Linked DNA regions of Homo sapiens: all the other regions are linked to region 2. The links are contacts of gene promoters, found by promoter capture Hi-C in blood cells and fetal thymus (Javierre and others, 2016). All regions are on one chromosome and are shown on one strand. Each heading gives the region's core, a stretch centred on a gene start or on the middle of the fragment in contact. The rest is flanking DNA. Distances are from core to core; before and after follow the strand shown. Region 1 has its middle 24 kb from the start of JPH4. Region 2 holds the start of PCK2 (phosphoenolpyruvate carboxykinase 2, mitochondrial). Region 3 has its middle 9.1 kb from the start of DHRS2.

Region 1 (2,700 bases), core at 82-2,581, 490 kb before region 2:
TTACAAACTTTTCTTTGTAGATTCCCCCCAACCCTGTCCTTGGTGGGAGATGAACTGGGTGAAGCATGCAGCCAGCCTCCCTCTCTTCACTCTAATCATACCTGTAGCTTTCTCTCCTCCTGGGAAGACTTGCCCCAGCCACCCAGCTCTTTTTCTGTATGGCTGTGTGCTATGGTCTGAATGTGTCCACCTCAGATTCATATGTTAAAACCTCATCTCCAATCTCCTGGTGGTATTAGGAGGAGGGGCTTGGGAGGTGATTAGGGATAAGAATGTAGCCATCCCAGAGAGCTGCCTTGCCTCTTCTACCATGGGAAGACATAATGAGAAGGTGCCATCTGTGAACCAGGAAGTGTGCTCTCACCAGACACAGAGTCTGCTGGCAACTTGATCTTGGACTTCCAGCCTCCAGAACTGTAAGAAACAAATTTCTGTTGTTTGTAGGCCACCCAATCTGTGATACTTGGTTATAGCAGACTGGACAGACTAAGACACTCTGTTACCCTGTCAGGAATATCTTCCTAATGACACCATTCTACCATCTCCTCTGTCCTTGATTCTCAGGGGGCATCCTGCTCCTACCCAGTGGATGGAAGGAGCCTACAGGAGTAATTTGATAGTTTGGCTTCAAGGCCATGTGGCTGCTGGTCTTGAGATGATCCTGGGGCTCTTTTGTGCCACTGAATCTGACCTTGTGGTTTCATGCTCCAGATCACATAATGACTGAGGCTCTTGCTTGTGGGTCCCTGACATCAACAGCCAGACCTCTTTTGTACTGACCTCCTGCTCACTGGTATTGACAGGTCTCTTCCTGCTTGACCAGCACTCTGCTTATGCTGGCACAGGAGCTGCCCTGAATACGTTCAGAGTGACTGTGGGCATTCTTTCCTCTGGGGTGCATGTCTAAGGTCATACTCGCATTCTTGGAGGTGGGCTTCCCTTCACCTTCAACCACTACTGTGTCTCCTTGATGATAAGCTACAGGAAAAGAAGAGTAGGGTAACTTTAACTGCACTAATATTTAGTGGTGATCCCGGCACCCCTCCCCTGACAGAGCAAAGTCTCGGGGCTGAACTGAAGAGGTAGTGTGACCCTGTTTTATAGCAGAAAGAACATGCAGGCATTACATGAATACTGAGACCCAGACACCACATGCAGCAGCTCAGGTGCCTAGTGAGGCTCCCACTGCAAAAGGCGACTGTTTCATCTTCAATAAAGCAAACATTAGATAAAGCACATTAGAAGGCCAAGTGACTCATTTCTATTTCTGGCCTTCAGACATCAGTGACCATGGTGACCTCAGGCTGTGGACAGGAAGGATGGTTGAGGGGTTGGCAGTGGTAGGATGGGCCCCAAACCCTCTGCAGGAGACCCTGAACAACTTTGGAAAGACTTCTGACCATTTTTGCCTTGAATGATGACGCACCAGGGCCCTCTGGTCCTTGCCCTCGTTCAGATCTGACTCCTGTGCTCTCGTCTCCGTGAGCTTACCTGTGAGTACCCCTCTTTCCCACCACATTCTCACCAGTTTCTGGATCACTCTCCCAGCAGAACTAGTGGCTCTCCCCTTTGGAATCCCACAGGACTTGGTTCCTCTGCATCTCAGGAGTTTCTTACATTGTCTCATCTGTGGTTGTTCTGCCCGCACCCGACCCCTAGGCCCTAGAGGGCAGGGACCCATTCCCAGTGCTATGCAAAAGCCTGACAGTGATGACTAAAAAGCTACAGGCTGTCACGTAACACTGGGGGCTGCTAGCCCCACCTGAGACCCCACTGGGTTGCCAGAGCCTAGGTATTCGATCCCTGGTTTTCTAGATTTGTCCTGAAATTCAAAGCTCAAGCTACTGTAGCCAAATGGCCACAGTGGGCAGGGAGGAGGCCGGCAGGGGAGGGTAGGTGGGGTGCAGGAGCTCTGCAGAACTGTGCTGGGACCAGAGGACTGTTCCTGACTTGAGCCAGGCTCTGGAAAGCGGAATTTGGTCAGAAGGGAAGGGAGGTATTGGTGGGAGGGGTGCCCAAAGGACCAGCAGTTAGAGGAAAGAGGCCCATCTGGAAGCCCATCTGGGCTGGAACCACCCACCCTTTGGAATGCATTTATGCTAATTAGATACCATGTCTTAAAGTAGATTTAGAGGTTCATAATGTTTTTATTAAAAGAAAAGAAAAAAAAGAAACCATGTCAAATAGGTTTGGGATCTGATGGGCTTTAGGGTGGGAAAGTCAGAAGGCCTGGGGTACCTGATGGAGAGGAAGCAAAGGTGAAATTTGTGGTTTCTTAGGTCAGTAACCTATCTTCTCTAGACTGCAGTTGCCTCTCTAGACACAGCTTTGGTGTTAGGTCTGAGTTTATCCACCAGTTCTTCACAGGCCACTGGGGCCCCTAATGAGGCTCCTGGGGGGTTCTTTCTGGGACATCTGAGCAGGCTCTGGAGTCAGGAGGACCCTGCCAGGTTGTAGCTTGTGTGTCTTTGGGAATGTTGTGCAACCTCACTGAAACTCAGTTTTTCTTACCGTTAAAAAGGGTGTCATGTGCCAGGTGTGGTGGCTCAGGCCTGTAATCCCAGCATTTTGGGAGGCCGAGGCGGGTGGATCACGAGGTCAGGAGTTAGAGACCAGCCTGATCAACATGGCGAAACCCCGTCTCTACTAAAAATACAAAAAAAATTAGCCGGGGGTGGTGGTGCGCACCTGTAACCCCAG
Region 2 (2,849 bases), core at 223-2,722:
TCAGGAATCCATTGCTCGCCATCTCCCTGCTCTGCTTCCTCTAGGCTGGCTTCTGTCTCAGCCAGGTTCCTGCTTTGCAGTGCCAAGCTAACACTCAGCAGCTCCAGGCTTATATTCTACCAGCTCAGCAACTCAGCAGAAAGAGAGCTAACTTCCAAAGTTTTAGAAAAAGTCCCAGAGAGGGATCTCATGCCCATCCTTGAACATCCTTGATTGCTGTGGCCAGAGTGAGGAACACAAAAGTTGGCTAAGCTGCAAGCCTACCCCCAAGAGGGGTGACATCAGACCCACATGACAATACAGACTGAGGAGATGGTTCCCCAAAAGAAAATCAGGGTGCTATTACCAGAAAAGGCGAGTGGATGCTGAGCAGACACCCATCATAGATATGCTGAGTTTGAGGTGCTATATAGCATTGTGGGTGATATCCAGTGGTCTCAGGTTGGAGAGAGATGTCCCAATGGAGGTATAGCTTGAGAAATCACCTGAGGACTTTATGATGGTAGTTGGGTGGGCAGATGAGTTTCCTCATTGGATTGTGGAGAGAAAGAATGACCAGGCCGGGCGTGGTGGCTCACGCCTGTAAATTCCAGCACTTTGGGAGGCCAAGGCAGGCGGATCACGAGGTCAGGAGTTGGAGACCAGCTTGGCCAGCATGGAGAAACCCCGTCTTTACAAAAAATACAAAAAATCAGCCGAGTGTGGTGGCAGGCGCCTGTAATTCCAGCTACTCTGCAGGTTGAGACAGGAGAATTGCTTGAACCCGGGAGGCGGAGTGTGCAGTGAGCCGAGATCGCGCCACTGCACGCACTCCAGCCTGGGTGACAGAGTAAGACTCCGTCAGGGGAAGAGGGGATGTGCCGGGGGAGGAGAATGACCAGATCAGAGGACCAAGGAAGAGACCCAGGGGTAGAGAGACTCCACCATTTCATGGCAAGGCAGAAAGGAGCCTTGATCAGGAGGAGAAACGGGGATTTAGGAGTTGGGGACTAAGTGGACCTTAGCATTGGGCACTTGGACTACAGAAAGGCCCAGGACTCAGGGTGTCGCGTCCCCAGGAGGAGGAACTGGAAAGGCAATGCCCAACCCCCTAACTTCTAGACGTCTGGCCCCTGTAGTCTCCCGCCCCTGGCCTCGCCCCTCGTTCCTAGCTTGTTTGCCACCTAGTGTCTCTCCCGGGAGCAAGAGTCCTCAAAGTTACATCATGTGCGGCTGGGAGGGCGGTGGCGGATGGGGGGCGGGGCCTCGAAGTCGGGGGCCGAAGAGTGGACCCAGTCCTCCAATGGGAGAGATGGGTTTGGCGGTTTGGAGGCAGGGGTTGGGGCGGCGGCTGGGCTGACCTGGAGCCTGGAGCCCCGGGGCCGAGGGAGCTGGCCTGCCAGCGGGGCGGAGGAAAGCTAGTGCCAGCCCTACCAGGTTCCGCCCCCGCGCCTGCCCCCCTCCTTTTTAAGCGCCTCCCGCCAGCCTCTGCTGTGGCTCGCTTCGCCGCGCTCCCTCCTTCCCCGCCTTCCATACCTCCCCGGCTCCGCTCGGTTCCTGGCCACCCCGCAGCCCCTGCCCAGGTGCCATGGCCGCATTGTACCGCCCTGGCCTGCGGTGAGTGACCCCCGGCCCGGGGCCCACCCGCACCTTCCGCTGCGCTCGCCCCCTCGGGGCTGCCAGTGGCGCTCTCCTGCTCTCAGCCTCCGCCAGGTTTCCCATCCTAGGCGGAGGCGGGCAGGGGCGACTGCTGTGGGTCCAGCCTCCCGCGCCGCGCGTCTCTTGGGAGGGCAGCCGGCCGGTGCTCCTCGTTTCCGCCTGCACCTCCCCTTCTCTGCCTCGCTCGCCTCTGACCGCGCGATCTCTATCTGCCACTCTCAGAACTTCCTCTCTCTCCTCGCTCCTCTCTGCTGAGCCAGGTCTCCGCATATCCTCCTTTCCTTCCCAGATACCTCCCTCGGACCTCTAACGGGCTCTCAGCCAGCGCCCCAGGGTACTTCGAGAGGCAGCAGGGCCCTGGGGACAAGGGTACGTGAGCCCCGGGAGACTAAGCTCAGAGCCCCCTAAAGAAGGTGGAAGGTTAAATATCCATTCCCGGCCTCTCCCGGACTGGAAGGACTGGAACCTGGCGGGAAGTCCAGAGCAGCCCGAGGGACCTGGGCCCAGGGGAGGGAGGCAAGCAAGGTGGGAGGAGGGCGCCAAGTTGCCTTCGTTTCTTACATAGCTGGCTTCTTCCTCCGTCCAGGCCTGGAGCCCCCAGGCTCGTCCTGTTTGTCTGCCTGTCCTCTTAGTCTCCTATTTATTCTCTGAGGCCTCTCTTCTCAGCTTTTGTCCCAGAGTCGGAAGTGACCCACATCTGTCGCACAGCCCGTTCCACTTGGGCAGCCCTTGTGGGTGGTCTCTGAAGGAAACGTCCCACTTAGAGGGCTGCAAGAGGGTGTGGGGGCTTCACAAGAGATAACGTGAGCCAGGCTCCAGGGAGAGAGAGGCTGTCCTCAAGACTGTGTGCTTGAAAACTGATGCTCACGGAGAACTTCCCTCTGAGGCAGGAACAGACCCAGGTCCCAGTAGCCCTCCTCCCCTGCCCCTGGGGCCACACTGATCATCTATCCTGCTTTAGCGGAAACCACCCCAGCTTCTACCCCAGACAGACTCAAGCTCCCGTATCCATGCTCTGAGCTTTCTTCCTTCCCCAGGCTAACACCCTCTGAGTCTGAGCTGCCAGCAAGCTGCTGTTCCACCCTCCCACCAACACCAAAGCTCTCTAGGCATGTGGCCTCTAGGAAGAAGAGCCAGGGGAAGCACGGGGTCACGTGGTCCTGGGTGTGGGGGCAGTTTCTGATGGGCGAGGCCTTGATAGAGGAGGAGAG
Region 3 (2,700 bases), core at 170-2,669, 470 kb before region 2:
TCTGTAAAAGATGGTTTTATAATCGCTGTAGGACCCTAACAGGTGCTCTTAAATCCAGGTTTCTGATAACTTTGGAGATTGTGACATTAGAATAGATGAAAAAACTTTCAGGACTCTCATGGAGAGCTGAAATATTCATGAATATCAAGCAGAATAGGAGTTAATTGCATGGCCTGAACTAATAGAAGACTGAAATAATCCTTTTGTGACTTTTTGCTGAAAACATTGCTGATCCTTTGTTTTTCAGAGCCAAGAAAACTTTTCTCCTGAGCTGTTTACAGCTTTTAACAATTAAGTAAAATATACTGCTGTAAGCAAAATTTGGAGCATGTTTGTTTCTTTCTACGTGATTTCTTTAGAATTTGGAAACTATTTGTGAGTATTCTAAAGTTATGGCAATATAGTTGTTTGCATAAGTGCAATAAGAATCTGTTTCCTTTTGCAACAGGACACAATTGGAGAAACTGATTATTTTACCAAGGCTTTGACTAGAATGGTGTGCTTTCCTTTAAGGAATCAAATTTGACTTACAGAGCCAATAAAAACCCCTTGGGAACACTTCCCTCATAGCTTGTCTACACAGTTCTTGTACAGGGTTCTTGACTTGTGGTAAGTAGAGAATGTCACTTTCTGACAGGTCCAGGAGCCTCAAGTTATCTTGGGACCTCTAGAGGAGAGGAATTCACCCAACTCATACAGGTATTTGATGGCACAAACCCATGGCTTGTCTTAAGGCTTTAAAGTCTTATCTGGGATTCCTCATGGAACAGTTTCATCAAAACCCATTTTAAAAGGAGATTATATGGCAAATAATTATTTTTACTGTATTCTATGTAAATAATCAGGCTGAGTATAATAAGACTAAAGCTTATTTTGTAAATAAGTCAGTCCTACCATGATTTGTTTTTAGTAAAAAAAAAAAAGGGAAATTAGAGAGAGAAAAATTATGTTTCAAGAACTATGGTATACCTGTTATTAGATTCTAGTCTTATCAGTTGCTTTTGAGTTTTTTTCCTCCACAATTTAGACTGACCCTGCTTATTCCTGTGAACCAACCAGTGATCTCTGGCTGCAGCTCAGAAGAAACAAGAAGGATGGGCCATCAAGCTCCAGATGATCCTCAGTGAGGAATACCATCCTCTCAATATTCAGGAGTCACCCTTCTACAGAGGACCCCTAGAATGCTCATCAGTGGGACACAACAGAGGTGAAATTCTGCCCCTGCCTCCCTTGGACCTGGCTGAATACTGCTTTCACCAACCCATGGAGCCACCCTGCCCTGACAGCTAGCAAGAGGCCAAGACTCACAGAACAACCACCACTGCCCATCTGTCAGCAGGAGGTAGCTATAAAAGACTGATCTTTGTCCATTCTCCCCAAAGAATTGGGAGTTTTGGATGAACTCTTGATGGGGGAAGTGTTTACAGTAGGTAGTCAGGTAGACATGAACAGGATAGGAGAGGCCCCCCACTCAGGAATGTCAGGAGACCATCAGGTGATGGTCAGACAGTTGTTATACTGTCTCTCTAAAATAATAATTGGTCACAGCTGATGCCAGGGAAAGGCTGTCTCCCAATAGATAGAAACACCTGAAGCTGGTGATCAGCAGCTTCTTGATAAGATCTCAGGAGTTGGGTGAGTGGGCTCAAGCATGCTACATCAAGAGGCAAAATGTTGGAGTTTAGTATATGACCTTCTTCTAGGAATACTTGACTGGTAAAGGAAGAATGCCTCAAGTGAGCCTGTGTACAACTCCAGTAAACACACTGTGCATGCAGCCCCCTCCCAAGTGCTGGCAGGCCACTGTGCATGCAGACAGCCCAAGGTAAGAATCAGGGGAGAAGTAACACAACCCTGGAAGCCTGGCAACATATAAGACACCAAGTCAAAGGTCAAACTGGGCAGTTGATCTCTCAAGTCACCTGCTTGGCCCTCTTCTAAGTGCACTTTACTTTCTTTCATTCCTGCACTAAAGCTTTTTAACAAACTTTCACTCCTGTTCAAAAAGTTCCCCCAGTTTCTCACTCTGCCTTGTGCCCCTCAGTCGAATTCTTTCTTCTGAAGAGGCAAAAACTGAAGTTGCTGCAGACCCATATGGATTTGCTGTTGCTAACATACTTTGGTGCAATGTGACTCATATGTTCCCTAGTGGTAACATCTTTAGGTCTCAGATCCTGATAGGGACCAGAAAGCTCTGGAATTCTCTGTGCAACAAAAGATTACATCAGGGACAGAACGCACTCCCAGCTGAAGAGTGACTCAATTATTAGGTTGGTGCAAACGTAATTGCAGTTTTTGCATTGTTGAAATTTGCTGTTTGATATTGGAATACATTCTTAAATAAATATGCTTATGTTGGCCGGGCACGGTGGCTCACGCCTGTAATCCCAGCATTTTGGGAGGCCAAGGCAGGTGGATCACGAGGTCAGGGGATAGAGACCATCCTGGCTAACATGGTGAAACCCCATCTGTACTAAAAATACAAAACAAAATTAGCCGGGTGTGGTGGCAGGTCCCTGTAGTCCCAGCTACTCAGGAGGCTGAGGAAGGAGAATGGCATGAACCCAGGAGGCGGAGCTTGCGGTGAGCCAAGGTCACACCATTGCACTCCAGCCTGGGCGACAGAGTGCGACTCCGTCTCAAAAAAAAAAAAAAAAAAGAGAAAAAAAATATATATGCGCTTATGTTATATATCATTTT

The links. The method cuts DNA at HindIII sites, captures the fragments that hold promoters and counts their contacts. A CHiCAGO score of 5 or more calls a contact.
Region 1: a fragment that was not itself captured here is called in contact with the fragment with the promoter of PCK2 in region 2 in 1 of 17 cell types (naive CD8 T cells); the score reaches 6.7 in naive CD8 T cells.
Region 3: a contact is called between a fragment that was not itself captured here and the fragment with the promoter of PCK2 in region 2, in 1 of 17 cell types (naive CD4 T cells). The highest score is 5.4, in naive CD4 T cells.

Annotation. Positions count from the first base shown.
Region 1 is chr14:23,601,296-23,603,995 of GRCh38, forward strand. No RefSeq gene overlaps it. Among named protein-coding and RNA genes, the nearest start is that of JPH4, 24 kb to the left of the region's middle. RefSeq lists an enhancer at 1,065-1,359. The HindIII fragment of the contact is 5,671 bases long and covers 1-2,700 here.
Region 2 is chr14:24,092,839-24,095,687 of GRCh38, forward strand. It overlaps PCK2 (phosphoenolpyruvate carboxykinase 2, mitochondrial), which reads left to right and starts at 1,473. Exons shown (of 10, transcript NM_004563.4): 1 at 1,473-1,596. The coding sequence starts at 1,568. The region is part of intron 1 of NRL (neural retina leucine zipper); the gene reads right to left. RefSeq lists a silencer at 1,239-1,488 and enhancers at 1,496-2,145, 1,799-1,868. The HindIII fragment of the contact is 4,962 bases long and covers 1-2,849 here.
Region 3 is chr14:23,625,954-23,628,653 of GRCh38, forward strand. No RefSeq gene overlaps it. Among named protein-coding and RNA genes, the nearest start is that of DHRS2, 9.1 kb to the right of the region's middle. The HindIII fragment of the contact is 1,108 bases long and covers 866-1,973 here.